4 separate regions of the Homo sapiens genome follow, and regions 2, 3 and 4 are each linked to region 1. Evidence: promoter capture Hi-C in 16 types of primary human blood cells and fetal thymus (Javierre and others, 2016). All regions are on one chromosome and are shown on one strand. The core of a region is centred on a gene start or on the middle of the fragment in contact, and the rest is flanking DNA. Distances in the headings are between cores, read along the strand shown. Region 1 holds the start of C3orf36 (chromosome 3 putative open reading frame 36). Region 2 overlaps RYK (receptor like tyrosine kinase). Region 3 has its middle 96 kb from the start of LINC02000. Region 4 has its middle 65 kb from the start of LINC02000.

The links. Contacts are between HindIII fragments. The CHiCAGO score rates a contact against its expected background, and 5 or more counts as called.
Region 2: a fragment that was not itself captured here is called in contact with the fragment with the promoter of C3orf36 in region 1 in 2 of 17 cell types (endothelial precursors and megakaryocytes); the score reaches 8.7 in endothelial precursors.
Region 3: a fragment that was not itself captured here is called in contact with the fragment with the promoter of C3orf36 in region 1 in 1 of 17 cell types (endothelial precursors); the score reaches 5.4 in endothelial precursors.
Region 4: a fragment that was not itself captured here is called in contact with the fragment with the promoter of C3orf36 in region 1 in 1 of 17 cell types (endothelial precursors); the score reaches 6.8 in endothelial precursors.

What each region holds. Positions count from the first base shown.
Region 1 is chr3:133,927,820-133,931,794 of GRCh38, forward strand. It overlaps C3orf36 (chromosome 3 putative open reading frame 36), which reads right to left and starts at 1,993. Exons shown (of 1, transcript NR_161373.1): 1 at 326-1,993. RefSeq lists a silencer at 1-151. The HindIII fragment of the contact is 5,965 bases long and covers 1-3,718 here.
Region 2 is chr3:134,174,569-134,178,543 of GRCh38, forward strand. RYK (receptor like tyrosine kinase) reads right to left here. Exons shown (of 15, transcript NM_002958.4): 11 at 3,373-3,505; 12 at 1,362-1,471; 13 at 1,041-1,200. Among named protein-coding and RNA genes, the nearest start is that of RYK, 74 kb to the right of the region's middle. The HindIII fragment of the contact is 4,593 bases long and covers 1-3,975 here.
Region 3 is chr3:134,151,209-134,155,183 of GRCh38, forward strand. No RefSeq gene overlaps it. Among named protein-coding and RNA genes, the nearest start is that of LINC02000, 96 kb to the left of the region's middle. The HindIII fragment of the contact is 4,954 bases long and covers 1-3,975 here.
Region 4 is chr3:134,120,529-134,124,503 of GRCh38, forward strand. No RefSeq gene overlaps it. Among named protein-coding and RNA genes, the nearest start is that of LINC02000, 65 kb to the left of the region's middle. The HindIII fragment of the contact is 714 bases long and covers 1,275-1,988 here.

The DNA of each region.
Region 1 (3,975 bases), core at 743-3,242:
AGCCAGAGGAAAGGAGCCGAGACCGCAGTCCCCTGGGCCCGTTTCCTCGTCTGTGGAATGGCATGATTATTGCATCTCACAGGGCTGTCGTGAAGATTCAAGGAGCAAATGTATGTAAAGCGCTTCGGATGTCTGGTACATTCTGAGCCTTCAACCCACCTGAGCTGTTGAAACTCTGGGATTCAAGCGATTCGGGTCAAAGAGGAACGGTGTGACACCTGCCTCTGTCCTTTCCAAGGTGGACTCAGGGATTGCATACGTCTCATCCAGAACCCCCAGTCTCTCTTTTGTAAGCTGGCGGTCATGAGATGTAATGAGGAAAAGGTTTAAACAAATGTTGGTCCCTATCTGGGACCTCTGAAGTCACTTTTAATGGATTTGGGGATTTTACAGATTTAAAAAGGGGTGCCTACTGTGGCCCATTTATAGACCTGTGGAGCGAAGAGAAGGAGATTAGTCACACTGGGGGCCGGAGTAGAAGCCGTTTTAAATTAGTTGCCCCGCTCTGCCTTGAGACTGAGACTTTCTGACTCTCAGTTTCACCCTTGGGTTCCAGCACCCAGATGAGAAGAGAGAGAAGGTGGAAGAGGAAGAGAGGGAGGGGATAGAGCAGCGGCCACCACCTCTCCCTGAGAGGGCGCAGAGTGGGTGGTTCCCCCCAGGTGAGCAAGGTGGGGGCCCCGTGGGTGTGCTGGGTAGGGGTGGAGTGTGCTGGGAGCACGCGGGAGGACTGCGCCTCTGCTCCTCGGGGTGTGGCGCGGCCCACTCAGGAGCCCCTTCCAGTGTAGACTCCAGGAGGGTACTCTGAGCTAGGAATGCCTTCCTGAGCGTGGTTGGTGGGGGCTCTAAGGCCATTCCTCCAGGCCCTGAGGGGGCAGAGAGACACGTGAGCACTAACCCAGGAGCCGGGACTAGGCTGAGCCCACTACTCACAGCCTGGGGTAAGCCAGCCTCAAGACCCTCCAGGATGGTCTCAGCCTGCATCCGACTGCCTCTCCTGCCTGACCACTGCGCTCCTTCACAGGCCTCTGGCCGGCGAGTTCTCAAGATGTGCAAAGGTTTCCTGCTTCCTTACCTTTGCACACCTTTGCTTATTCCTTTTGCCCAGAAAGTCTTTCCCAGCACATTTGACTCTCTTGAATTCCAGTCTCTCCCGCATGGCTAGGATCAAGCCCGTTCTCCCATCGCTCATCAAATGAACTCAGAGCATAGTACTTTGCCCTGTGTTAAGGTCTTGTCTTAGCTCTGGATTATATGTCCTTGAAGGGTAGGGACCATGTGTTTGTCACCACCTGTCCTTATACACATCAGGTAGTACATAAATCAAGGGAGGCGTGAGGGACAACTGGAAGGAGCCTCGTTTTCTCCATGTACAGGATGGGACTAGTCATAGTGGCCGCACAGGGCTGTGGGAACTCTGGTGCGATTCTGCCATGAGTCACCCCATCTCCTCCTTGCCTGCAGGGTCTCGCTCCATCAGCTGTCCTCTTGGACCCCGCAGCCTCCCCATCCTGTGGCCTTTTGCCCCAGCAAATCTCTCCTCTCTGAAGCCATCCTTTCCTTGACCCTGCATCTCTCTCAGCCACCACCCCATCTCTGCCTCCTCTGAGCAAAATCGTCTTTCCCACCTCCCCAGCCCTCTGCAGACTGCCTCGGCCTTGCCTGGGCATCATCCCCTCAGCTTCAGGGACCCACAATTGGTGCTTCCTCCATTGGGAAATCTTTCCAGACTGTGCTTCCCAACCCCGACAGCCCCGCAAAGCTGGTTTAAGTGTCCCGGTGAGCAACTGTGTCCACCTAGGTTCACTACCCACAGTAGAGGGTTTTAGTGCTCAACCATATCTGCTCTTTTCTTCTCCTGAGCACACAGAATATTCTGTTCCGCTCTTGCGGCAGCTAGGCTGGGAGCAGAGTGAAGAGCGTTACTTTGGGACAAAGCATTGCTTAGCAGTGCGGGATCTTCCAGGACTTTCTTCCCCTGCCCCATCCATCATGGCAGCTTATAATGAAATGGAGGTACCTCAGGTTCCAAACAGTCTGAGTTACTGAGACACTGGTTGGGGGGGCTCTCAGGCCAATCCTCCAGGCCCTGAGCAGGCAGAGGGGCACTACTGAGCCACTGACCTGAGAGTCACCCAGATCACCACAGGTTCTGTGAGCGAGATACCATCTTTTGTTGTGTCAAGTGACTAAGATTCGAGAGGTTTGTTACCACAGCATAGCCAAGCCTTTCCCCACTGATTTACTGATTAAAGAAGTGTTTTAAATGGGTTAATGGCTTGGTAAACTGTAAAGATCTGTGCACATTTTAGTTATTATTATTGCTGTCAAGTTGTAGCAGGGCTGGAGACATGATGTGGCTGGAGAGTGGAGGAATGGCCAGGGTATGCCATGGAGAAAAACTTCCTCTCATTTATGATTTGCCAAGGGCTTTTCCAGGATCTGTTTCCATATTTAATCTCTGATGAAAGGTTATAATGAATCTGGTGTCTGGTGCTACTGGCAGGAGATGGACCTTTCTTCCAGGTATTTACTTCCTGTGGTTGCGAAAGATAGGATGTATTTCTTCTGGATTTGCTGCAATATAATATTTTAGTATCAATTTGATACTGACTGGCTTCAGCCTCCAGCTTAACTGTATCTCTCCATCTTTGAGAGTGGTTGAATAAAATCACAATATGGCTTTGTTTCTTGAGCAAGAATCTGCTAAGCAGTCACCAGATGGAGCTGTTCCCTTGAAGGTCTGTGTGCAGGATTCTCAGGGCCTTTTCTTCTCAAAACCCTTCCCTCTTTGTCTCTTTTCTCCACAACTCTCTTTAACTCATGGTGCTATAGGGATAAATTGGCCCTGTTTAATGAATAGTTGTGATGTTGTTGCTAGTTGAATAGAAGGTAAGTAAATGAACTGTTACCTGGTTCTTTTGCCTTTGTTACCCACCTTAATGGCCCTCAAGAGATTCCCCCACTTCCCTCCCATGGGCCAGTGAACATCAGTGGGAAAAGAGGGGCCTCCCCACCATTTTAGTCCATGCTGACTCTTCAGAATGACTCAGCTGGGGCAATTGGGCTGGACCAGAGAGAAGTGGACAGCCTGGTTTGAGTCTAGACCTGGCCAGCTATTATCTATGTGAAATTGGCCACAATGGTTGCTTCCTCGGGATCAGATTCCTCACCTTTACATGGGGCATCCATCATGGAGGATCACCCCAAAGGGCTTTGGGCCAAAGGATAATTGATAGAGATACGGTATTTAGTTATCACTGTATTTGCGCTTTTTCCAAGAAGGGTAAAAGAAGGATTGAATAAAAAAGGTTCCTGCACACTCTTCCTTTTCCGGCTTTTTTGTTCAGCCCTTGAGGAGCGGGATTCTGTAGGGAGAGGGAGTGGTGCAGAGGAGTGGGCTTCCTAGGACTGGGGCCGGGAGAGGGCATAGCCGCGAGTGTGCACAGGGAGGTGGGCCTAACCCTGGGGTCTCGGCTTTGTAGGGTTTCCAGGCTCAGGTGAGAAGCAGGGCCATTAAACAGCCTCAAATGGGAAAGGGACCAAAGACCCACAATGGCACCCTTGAATGCGTAGGCATCCAAGGACCTTCAGATGGCTCTAGGAGCCAGACCCAAGCATGGTTGATATTGAATTTCCAGCCAGACAGTAGGATGGGGGGTTTGAAATCAATAACTGATTTAAAGAAATAAGTGATTTTTTTCTTTTTGCACATCCAAGCTTGTGAAGTGAGAATGTCTCTCTCAGTACTGATAAGGGCCTCATATAAATGTGAGCTCTTGGATTGTTTTTCATGCCCATTGACTCTTAGTTGCAGCCATCCAAAAAATCAGATTCACAGGCATCTCTTCACCTTGTTATCCTTCACTCACCTTTGAACATACCAAAGGCCTATCGAGCCTGTAAATTTCTCAGTGGCCTAAGCACAAATGGGCATACCCCAGGCTCTATTGCACTGACAGCCCACCTCACAGG
Region 2 (3,975 bases), core at 993-3,492, 250 kb after region 1:
ACTGAGTGAACATATGTGGGACCCTATAAGCAGAAGTTTTACCTAATCCCTAAATATTCTGCAACAATAATAAAGTCTAACAGGCAAGAGACAGGAAAATAAATTACACTTAGTCTTCCAAATAAGACTAAGAAATCAAGTGACAGAAATTTTACATGGCTGTAAAATATGAACAAGTGAACGTGGCTTCTGAAACTGTACATCACAAAGGGCCCAACTATGATCTGGCTAAGTGGCAAAACCACCCAGAAACTTGACAAAAGGAAGAGGATGACGGGGGGATTTACAAATTTTATGAGCCATAACACTTAGAAGAGGTCACCTGAAAAAAAGAAAACATCTTTATGATCTAGCAACTATTTGGTCTGCCTCTTATATAAGAAAGAAATAATAATGAAATTACTGTAACTGCTCTGAGTCTCAAAATCCTCACCTTTAAAACTGGGATACCACAGCCTATCTCCTAGTGTTAATAGTGCTTCTGTCAATGGGCGTGGTGGCTCACACCTGTAATCCCAGGACTTTGGGAGGCGGAGGCAGGTGGATCAACTGAGGTCAGGAGTTCAAGACCAGCCTGGCCAACATGGTGAAACCCCGTCTCTACTAAAAATACAAAATTAGCTGGGCATGTGCCCATGGTGGCACACGCCTGTAATCCCAGCTACCTGGGAGGCTGAGGCCTGAGAATCGCTTGAACCTGGTAGGCAGAGGTTGCAGTGAGCCAGGATTGCGCCATTGCACTCCAGCCTGGGCTACAAGAGTGGAACTCTGTCTTAAAAAAAAAAAAAAAAAAAGTGCTTCTGTCAGAGCAGTACTGTGAGGATGAAATGAGATTACAAACAGTGCTGGCCTATGGTCTGGGTCACAGCTCCTCTCCATAAACTGGTTGACTGGCAGCTAATTACACTTGCTTTCTGGATAAAAATTTCCGGGAACAGCTAGCAGATTTTTTAAAAACCCAAAAGATAAAAATAGTAGAACATTTAAAAACAGAAAGCTGTTTCTCTATTCTTTTGCTATCTGGGGGTCCCGGCACTTACCACATCACTAGCGCTAGAGAACTCGTTATTAACCAGACTTTCAAGAGCCATCCAACGAACTGGCCTGTTTTCATTGTCCCCCAGACAGTGATAGTCCATGGGGAACAAGTCTCTGGAGAGGGCATTGTCTGTGATCTTAACTTGAAGTGTGTCATCAATGCTGAAAAGTAAAGATATGAACATCAAATGCAATCAGAGTATTAAAAAGTAGGGATCATCACCACCCTTAAATACAACACAAGTCCCACTGTGACTCGCAGAGAACCCCAAATCCAGGAAGCACTCTACATCAAGTGACAGCGTCAAGCTCATGGCACCTACACACAGTTCCTGGCAGCCAGGTCTTTGTGGATGACTTCCCTTCTGGCCAGGTAGCTCATTCCACAGGCAATCTGAATAGCCATGTGTACCAGGTCTTGCTGAGAAATTGCCTGTGGTAACAAAAAATAACATGGTTTGCAAATAGCACACAAATATGATGGCACTTTCTTACTTTTTTTATTCCACAATCCTACTCCATCCAAAAATACTGCTTTAAACCTACACACAGAATTTTTAAAAGCTATTTCTTGACCAAGACTATGTTCCCATATATCCCTATACTTATATCAACTGTAGTCCTTATTATTCTGTAATCTACCATTTACTCTGTCTCCTTTCATCTGTTAGATGTATCTCCCCAATATCCAGCACACACAGCAGCTGCTCAATACATCTGTTCAGTGAATGCTGAGTTCTCAAGGTAATATTTCAAATGTTTATAATTCAGTAATCTTTTTTTCCCCCAAACAGTAGTTTTTATTAGGAGATTCTCTCTTTGGGATTATTTTCAAATTAACACAAATCTAAGCCTGGTGCAGTGGCTCATGCCTATAATCCCAGCACTTGGGAAGGCTGAGGTGGGAGGATCACTTGAGCCCAGGAGTTCGAGACCAACCTGGACAACATACTGAGGCCCTGTCTCTACACAAAATGATTTTTTTTTAAATTAGCCAGGTATGGTGGCATGTTCCTGTGGTCCCAGCTACTCAGGAGGCTGAGGTGGGAGGATTGCTTAAGCATGGGAGGTTGAGGCTGCAGTGAGCTGTGATCACACCACTGCCCTCTACCCTTGGTGACTGAGATCCTGTCTAATGAAACAAAAAACAAAAAAACCCTGCAGCTGGGTGCGGTGGCTCACATTTGTAATCCCAGCACTTTGGGAGGCTGAGGCAGGCAGATCACGAGGTCAGGAGATTGAGACCATCCTGGCTACCACGGTGAAACCCCGTCTACTAAAAATACAAAAAATTAGCCGGGCGTGGTGGCAGGCGCCTGTAGTCCCAGCTACTCGGGAGGCTGAGGCAGGAGAACGGCGTGAACCTGGGAGGCAGAGCTGGCAGTGCTGAGATCACGCCACTGCACTCTAGCCTGGGCGACAGAGCGAGACTCCATCTCAAAAAAAAACACAAAAAACAAAAAACAAACAAAAAAAAACCACACACAAACCCAAAGTACGAGCTCCTAGCTTTTTCTGCTGATGTGTTCTTCTAGGTGTATGACAGTACTTGGGGCTGAGGAATAAAATCCTTCCCCAGGTAATGCAGATGAGCCACAGCCTCTAACCACTTATTGAGAATCCCAGCTTTAGTCTTGTCAATTTACAAAGCATATGATACATATTAGGCCAAATACTGAATGCAGCCTTTGAACCCACTTTCTCCTGGCAACTATAATAAGCATACTATTATAAATCCTAAAGCAACTTAATGGGACAACAAGATACAGCTGACAGCAAAAAAAACCCACTAGGCTTTACTACCACTACCATCATAATATGCTTGGTATCTGACCTTTGCTTTACAGTTATAAACACAAGCAGGGAAGAGAAACACTCTTAGATGACTGCCATCTTACAGCCACGCATATTAACAATACATCCAATTATCTCCCACAATCTAGACCTCCAGTCATCACCAGACTTTGGTATAGTATGAACCAAATGGCTCTAGAAAGTCTGTTTCCATTCCTAAGAGGAAGATCTAGGACAAGTACCCTCAGTTATCAGGAAAACACCTAAGATGGCATTACAAAGGGTTTGAGTTGATTATGAATAAGTACACAACGAGAATATAAGGAAAACTTCAGCATCAGCACAGTGTAAGCCTCAAGGCAGGAACATAAGCCAACATTTTCCTTTAAGCCAACAGGTTATAAATATCTTGTGGTTCATTTTGAGGTTCTTTTTTGCAGGCCTCTAAACAGTTTATATTTAAGAATGTTAATATCTACTTTCAAAGACATTATCAGAAACTACTGGTAAATAATTGGTATTTGGGCAAATTTTTCTCACCTGTGGATTATTGGCCTCTACTAACTTGCACTGTCGTAAAAACAATTTAAGATTCCCCCAATTCATGTAAGGCAATATCACCATGGGCTTTTCTCCTTCTTCTATACACACATGAGTAATAGGAAGAAGATTTCTATAAAATAATAAAAAATTGGGAGAAAGACAAAGGAATCCAAAATGTTAGGGGCTTACTTCTAATAAAAATAATCTAAAACAAAACAAAATCCCCAAAATACTTAAAAACATGATTACCATTAAAAATGTAAAATTATAAGTGTTCTGTATTTTAAACCAGACTTAAGTGTCCCCTATATATGTGCATATATCCCCATATATGCACATTCTTGGTAGGGAAAAATCATAAACTCAAAGTTGCTTCCTGTGGGCTGGATTCTCTGAAGGCACACTCTAACCACACTATATCTTTACTCCAAAGGGCAATTAATCAGAGACATCTAAAAACTGACTTGCCCATGAGTGTATTATGATAACAATATCCCACTTACTCCATTATCACACATGAAAAAAAAAAAAGGCCCAATCCAGACGGTGGTCAAGAATATGATCATCAAAAAAGGTCTCTAAAAGGCTGAAACTGCCACA
Region 3 (3,975 bases), core at 769-3,268, 220 kb after region 1:
GACTTTCAATGGACACACACAGCCAGTCTCTGGCTTACGTCTAAAGGCCCTAAATAGTCAGATCATGAAGCTAGCAAAAAGGTACCTGGTGGTAGATACTGTACGCCAAATATTGAAGAAAATATAACTTTGCAAGCTCAAATCTATAAGGTGGTGGCAGAATTATGAACAGGTGGAAAACAGTGGGCCAGAGGCCAAAGTAACAGCATTCACAATGGAATACAGCAGTAGAGTTTTCTGGTCAAAGACTTAGAAGCTAAAGGTGAGGTAGTAATTCCTACCAGGCTTTCATCTCAAATAATGGCAGGACTCACCAACTTAAACACCAAGCTGACTGGACACTCCCTACAGTCACTAAGACTCTTCACAATCACTGTACTTTGACAGAACTTTTGAAGCATTAAATATATTGCTAAAGGAAGCCAAATACCAGCACATTTCTGCAAAGCGGCAGACACTGCTAGCCGTTCCTCAAGAGCCATCGCCTTCCTTACCAATAGAAGCCCAATTTTGTATACAACAAGAACGTGATCAACTCAAAACTCAATTTCCTCCAATATGCATTAACTGATGAATGGTTTATATCCATACAATGGAATATCTGTCAGTAATAAAAAAGAATGAAGTACTGATACATGATACATGAAGGAATTTTGAAAATCCTATGTTAAATGTAAGAAGCCAAACACAAAAGACCACATGTTGTGTGATTCCGTTTATATGAATGGTCCAGAACAGGCAAATCTATACAGACAAAAAGTAGATTCGTGGTTGCCTAGAGCTGAGGGTGAGGGTGGAATTGGGAGTGACTGCTAATGGGTATGGGGTTTCTTTTTAGGGTAATAAAAATGAATTAGATTGTGGCGATGATTATACAACTCTGTGACTACACTAAAAATCACTGAGAATTACACGCTTTAAATGGGTGATACTAGAATTATATCTCAATAAAGCTGTTTTCAAAAAATAACAAAATCTAATTTCCTGGCATTACCCACCTGTAGCGCATGGAGTGCTCATGTGCGTTCAGGATATTAAGTTGTTGGTGGAAGCATACTACAGGAAGTTAGTAGTTTCCTCACAAAAAGGACTCAGTAACTCATGCCTCTTGCTTTTTGCCCTTGCTCATCTTCCTATCTGGAACAAGCTCTAGGCCCTTGGGGTCCCTAAGAACCACAGCATGCTAAAGACGGCAGAGCAGCAAAACAGGAGGAGACTGGCAATGGATGACACCCTGGGATCACTGCATTAGCATTGGTTTATCTCTCTCTGGAGCTGTTATGGGAGAAAAATGACCTGCCTTTGGTTAAGTGATTATGGTTGAATTTTTCCATTACTTGCAGCTAAATGCTATCCCTAATGATACAAACCTATCTAATATCAGCCTATGCTTATTCTCAGAGCCAAGAAGGCAAAAAGCAAAAAAAGACTCAGAAAGATGTAAAAAAGTTTATTGCAAATGTAACCTTAAGGCACCATAGAGTTAATTTCTTTAAGGGTAAACAGTTATTTTATTTTCAAACTATATTTTTTTTCCCAGTTGTAATATACCCCCAGAGGAGTGCTCACTCCTCTAAAGACAAATCATTAAAACATGCTTTATTGTTGAAATACTGAGAAACCAAGTATGAACAAATGATGTATTTGTTCAAAGAGAATAATGTTGAACATCATCAATCCCTATTTCTTTTTTTTTTTAATAAGTTTTTATCAGTATAACAAGAACATCTGGTCTTTGAAAAGTTAGGAGACATCTCCCATTAAAACCTATAGACCTGGTTAGCCTTAATTTCTTAAAGAACAGCGCTGTCAGGGAGAAAGCAGAGGCTCACCCATATGGTTCACTTACATATAAAATGTATGTTGTCAATATACTTATGCAGGATGTTTGTGTGTCTCAGAGAATTAAGTCCAATATTATCTTGAAATATTAAAGGTAAAAATGAAGGTAGAAAAAAATTAATTTAACAAGCAAGTATTTACATTTTTATTTTCTAGACCCATAAATTAAATCATCTCTTTTCTACTTTATGAGATGGGGGTGAGGCGCATGGAAGAATAACACCTGGAAAACAATCTTCCACTAAAATCAATGAATTACTTGACTTGGAATAATTATTGTCAAACTCCAAAAAAAGTTGACCTGTGGGAGTATGAAACAGAATTTACATCAGGCTTATTATTCCGGTGGCCAAAGAAATAGCAGGTAGAATAAAGTAAAAAGGTGGTAGCTGGGGGCAGTGGGAGTGGACTTAAGCCAGTTTGGGGATAGGATATGAATGGTCTTTCCTACCAACCTGTCTCTTTTTATTTCAAACTTTATCAGTTTATGTTGCATCAAACTTGAACTCTTCAAATATGAGATAATGCTTTTAAGGAATTAGAAGACTTCCTTCCTGTTTAAGCCTCTCTAATTGCTCTCCTGTGCAAAATTTAGATATTTTCACTCATTCATTCATTAAATATTCACCCCTACCATGTATTGAGCACACCACTAAAGCAATGGAGATTCAGATCTGAGTAAAACACAAGTTCCTATCCTCAAGGAACTCACAGCCAAGTGGTGAAAAATAAACCTCCATCTTACCTTTGTTAAAGTTCAAATCCAGGGAAAAAGGCTGAAAAGCAACCACGAAGCCTGGAGGAGAGCAGTAAGGTGTGAGAGGCACCTTCTTGGTCCCAAGGCGGCAGTGTGGGGAGTGCGGGGAGCACGTCATTCTCGGAGAAGGGGAAGGAGCATGCCGAGCGGCGGGAAGCGTGCAGGCCCGAAGTGGGGAGCAGGAGAAACGGCAGAGCTGAGTGGATACTCTGCCTAGGTCTGAAGTCTACTCTGAAGGCTCCAAGCAGGGACAGCGGCTCAGTTTTATAAAGTGTTACCTGGGCAGTTGCTGGCTAGAGGGGTTCAAGGCCGAGGCCAGGGAAGCAGCTATGGGCAATCTGGGCAAGGAAACATGACAGCTGCAAGCACAATGAGGGTGCCAGTCTGAAGTCCCAGGAAAGCCCCTCAACAGAGGCAGGCTGTTGGGTAATGGGACGGTGGCAGTTTTGTGTACCGCCTCCCTTACCTTACCTCCCTCACATTTCTCCCCCAGTAAACACACAACCCTTATACAACAAAAGGGCTCGGGGCCAGAGTGAAAGGCTTTCATGGTTGTGGACCAAATGGCAAGGAAGAGCAGTGGCCCATACCCCAGAGGGATTTTTCTCCCTCTACCGGATCATTCCCATGAGCCCATGAAACATTTTCTGGCACTGTACCTTCATCTGGAAAACACTCTCATCCCTGTCCCTCTTCTCCCGAAAAACCCCCTTTGATCTCCTCTAGTTATTGCTTCATTTCCCTTCACAGCAGGGCTGACAGTGGTAGGCCTTTACGTCCCCACCTGTGTCCACACTTCGACTTGCTCCAGTCCCCATGCTCCTGCCAGTTAACTCCATATTGCCAAATCTGATGGAGGCGTCTCCATTTTGAAACACGACCTTTCTTGGGCTCCTGCAACACCTCATTTTCACTTTTTTGTTGTTGCTTTTATCAATTACAGTGGCTTTTCCTGTCTTTGTTATCTCTTCTTTCTTCACTAGCTGGAACTGAAGGTTAGAATGCTCAAGACTCAGTCCTAGGACCTCCTCTCCATCTATACACTCTCTCCCTATCAACTCCATCCAGTACCATGGCTTTAAAAATAGTCTATATGCTATACTCCTACATTTGTATGTTCAATGAGACCTTCCCTGAGCTGCAGACTCTCATCTATCAAAAATCTCCATACAGATGATCAACTGGCATCTCAAACACAGTCTACACCAAATTATGGATTTCTCTGGCCAATGCAAAATTCAGTTTCTCCTAGATTTTTCCCCATCTCAGTATATAGCTTGGCCATAAAACCAGATGCTCAAGCCCCAAATCAATTAGTCATTCCTCACCTCCCCGCTTCCTTCTTCACCCCACCGTCAACATCCAATGGATCCAGG
Region 4 (3,975 bases), core at 382-2,881, 190 kb after region 1:
CCTTGAGGTGCAATGTTTGGTTGTTAATTCATGCTCTTTCTACTTATTTGATATAGGCATTTAATGTCATAAAATTCCCTCTTAGCACTGCTTTTGCTTTGTCCCAGAGGTTTTGGTATATTGTGTTTCCATTTTCATTCGTTTCAATTTTTTAAATTTCCATCATAATTTCTTCATTGACTCAGAGACAGTTCAGGAGCATGCTGTCTAAGTTTCATGTATTTGTATAGTTTCTGAAGTTCCTCTTGGTATTGATTTCTACCTTTATCCCCCTGTGGTCTGAGGAGATACTTGATATAATTATGATTTAAAAAATTTCTTAAGACTTGTTTTGTGGCCTAACATGTGGTCTATCTTGCAGAATGTTACATGGGCTGATGAAAAGAATGTATATTCTGTACTTGTTGGGTAGAATGTTCTGTAAATGACTGTTAAGTCTATTTGGTCTCAAGTCTAATTTAAGTCCAATGTTTCTTCGTTAACTCTCTGTCTTGATGATCTGTTTATTGTTGTGAGTGGGATGTTGAAGTCCCCTACCATTATTTGATTGCTGTTTATCTCTTTCTTTAGGTCTAGTAACACTTGTTTTGTGAATTTGGGTGCTCTGATGTTGGAGATATATATATCCAACACATACACATATATATGATTGTTATATCCTCTTGCTGAATTGATACCTTTATCATTATATAATGATTTTGTCTTTTATTGCCATATTTAATTTAAAGTCTGTTTTATCTGTAAGTATAGCTACTCCTGCTTGCTTTTGGTTTCCATTTGTGTGGAATATCTTTTTCTACCCCTTTACTTTGTCTATATATGTCTTTATGGGTAGGGTGAGTTTCTGGTAGGCAGTATATAGTTGCATTATTATTTTTTAAAAATACATTCTGCCCATTTCTATCTTTTAAGTAAGCATTTAATCTATTTACAATCAAGGTTAATCTTGATATGTGAGGCTTTATTCTTGTCATATCATGAATTGTTTTCAAGTTGTTTTATAAATGCTTGTTTCATTTTTTTTCTCTTTTTGCCTTTGTGGTTTAATGAAATTTGGTCATGTTGCCATTAAATTCCTTTCTCTTCCTCCTTATTGTAGTTGTTTTATAAGAATTGTGAGTTTTATATTATGTGTTTTCATAATGGTGAACATTGACCTTTAATTTCCATGTTTTAGACCCCTTTAAGCATTTCCTGTAGGGCCTCTCTAGTGGTGACAAATTCCCTCAGCATTTGCTTGTCTGGGAAAGACTTTTTTTCTCCTTCATTTACGAAGCTTATTCTGGCAGGGTATAAAGTTCTTTGCTGATTTTTTTTTTCTTTCAGCACTTTGAAAATGCCATCCCATTCTCTTCTGGCCTGTGAGGTTACTGCTGAAAAGTCCACTGTGAGTCTGATGAGGTTGTCTTTATAGGTGACTAGGTGCTCTTCTTTTTGTAATTTAAAACTCTTTCTTTCACTTTAACTCTAGACTGAGTTAGGGAGAATGTTATATATTCTGAATATAATATTGCATGGTGAAGTCCTTTTTGCAATGTATTTGCCTGGGGATTCCTAGGCCTTGTGTATCTGGATGTCTGTCTTGTTAGACTTTGGAAGTTTTCATCAATTACTTCCTTAAATAGATTTCCTAAACTTTTTTATCTCTCTTCCCCATTTGGAATACCAATAATTCATTAGTTTGGTCACTGCATGCAGTCCTAGACATCTCAAAGGCTTTGTTCATTCTTTTTTATTATTTTCTTCCTTATTTTTCTCCGACTAGATTATTTCAAAATATTTGTCTTCAAGTTGTGACATTCTTTCTTCTGGTCTAGTTTATTACTAAGGTTTTAAGTGTATTTCATATTTCCTTCAATGAATTCTTTAATTCCAAAATTTCCACTTTTTTTAAAAGAGATAATTTCTTGGTAAATTTCTCATTCATATCTTGAATTTATATTCTGATTGCTTTGTATTGATTTTCAGATTTCTCTTGCATCCCATTAAGCTTCTTTAAAATCAGTGGTTTGAATTATTTACCTGGCATTTTGAGAAATTCTTTTTTATTAAGATCTATTGCTGGACAATTGTTGTAGTCCTTTGGTGCTGTCATATTTCCCTGCTTTTTCATGTTTCCTGTGTCCTTCCATTGATATCTGCACATCTGGTGTAGCAGTCTCTTGTTCCAGCTTTTGAAATTGCTTTCATAGGGTAGAAATTTTTCCTGAACACGTATGTATGTAGTTGGTTGAATATGATGATACTTTGGCTTTGATTTTGGGTGCCTGTGATAGTGTGATCTTAGTATGACTTCTCTGGCAGCACACAGGGTCCATGGTATCTGTGACTTCCTTAGTGGCTTCAGGAACAGTGATTAGCTGAGGTTGTGGTGAAATTTTCTGGGGACTTCAGTGACAACTGCACTAGTCTTCACCCAACAGCAGCAGCAGTGGGGTGAATGTGACTGTTTGTAGGCTCCAGAGCAACTTGCACTGGCTCCAGTATTAGTGGGTTCTAGAGAGCTGATTCTTGGGCCTCCAGGCGGCTTGTTTAGAAGTTAGTAGTGACAGTGGTGGGCCAGGTGTGTGGGTGGGTTCTCAGTCCAATGGGCAGCTGGTGTTGTGTGGGTGGTGACAGTAGTGGTGGTGGAACATCCAAATGGGATCCAAGCAGTCTGTGTTGTTGCTGGAAGCTGTTACGGGTTGGGTGGGCTAGTCCCCAGGTCCTCAGCCTCCTGCAGCAGGGCAGTGGATATTGTCCTGAATGTTCTTAGAAGAGCTTAATCTCTCCTGTCCCTTTCCCAGATGGGAGGCAGCTGCAGTACATCACTTATAACTCGGCTCAAGGATGGGCCCATCCTTAAACTCATTAAACTCATTAAACTCAAAATGGTGCCACCTATGAGTTTCTGAACAGATAGGGTGGGCAGCATGGGCTAGAAGCTGTGGACAGTGCGTCACACTCAAGTCTCAGTCTCACAGCAGCCTATAGCAGGGTGGTGGATATTGTCCTAGGAACATGTAGGAGAGCTTGGTTTTCTTGTCCCTCCTCAGATGGGTGGCAGCTGCAGCTTCATCAACTTGAACTCCGCCTGAGGGCAGGGCATAGCCCAACGTTAAACTCTCAAAATGGTGTCAGCTGTGGGCTTGTGACCAGAGACGGCGGGGCTTCTCTCAGGCAAACAGCAGAAGCAAGAAGCTGTGAAAGCGCAGTACCATTCGTGTCTCAGTTTCACAGCCGCCTATTGTAGGGCAGTGGGTTTTGTCCTAGATGTGCATAGGAGGGCCTGGTTTCCCCGACCCTCCTTGGCCAGGCAACAGTTACTGCCAGGTAAGCCTGAATTCAGCCTTAGGGTGAGGCACAGCCCAGTGTCAAACCCTCAAGGTGGCACCTTGGGCCTGAGACTAGAGAAGGCGGGGTCCCTCCCAAGCAAGCAGCTGTAAGGAGTGCAGTCTGCTCACATTCCATTCTCAACAGCAGCCTCAGTAGGGTGATGGAGACCCTCCCAATGGTGCATGGGAGTGCCTAGTTTCCCTCGCACCCTCCTTGGAGCAATGCAGTGGCAACAGCCATCATATGTAGATCCCCCGTATCTAAGCTCTCAAAATGGCGCCCAGCTGAGGCTGCTCAGGGCTCAGATGCCTGTGAGAGTTCCCTCTCTGGAGCAACATCTCTCTGCAATCTTTAGGCAGCTCCTTATGTTATGCCCAATTTCATAGTGGGTTTCTCCTGTGGCCAAGATTGTAAAAGCCAAGCCCTGGGGGTTTCCGTCTTATTGCTTCCCTGCATCCAGGAGCCTCTCATGATTCTGTCAGTCCTCTGCCAGGCAAGCTGCTTGCCTCCAACCCTCTCCTTACTTCTGGTGATTCCTATCTCTTCTCTGGTGAATCCTAGCATTCTCTTCTAGATGCTCTGCTTGAAATGTGAGTATTGTACTATTCTGCTTCCTCTCCTTAGAGGAGGTACGTACTACCTGCGTCTAGCAGCCATCTT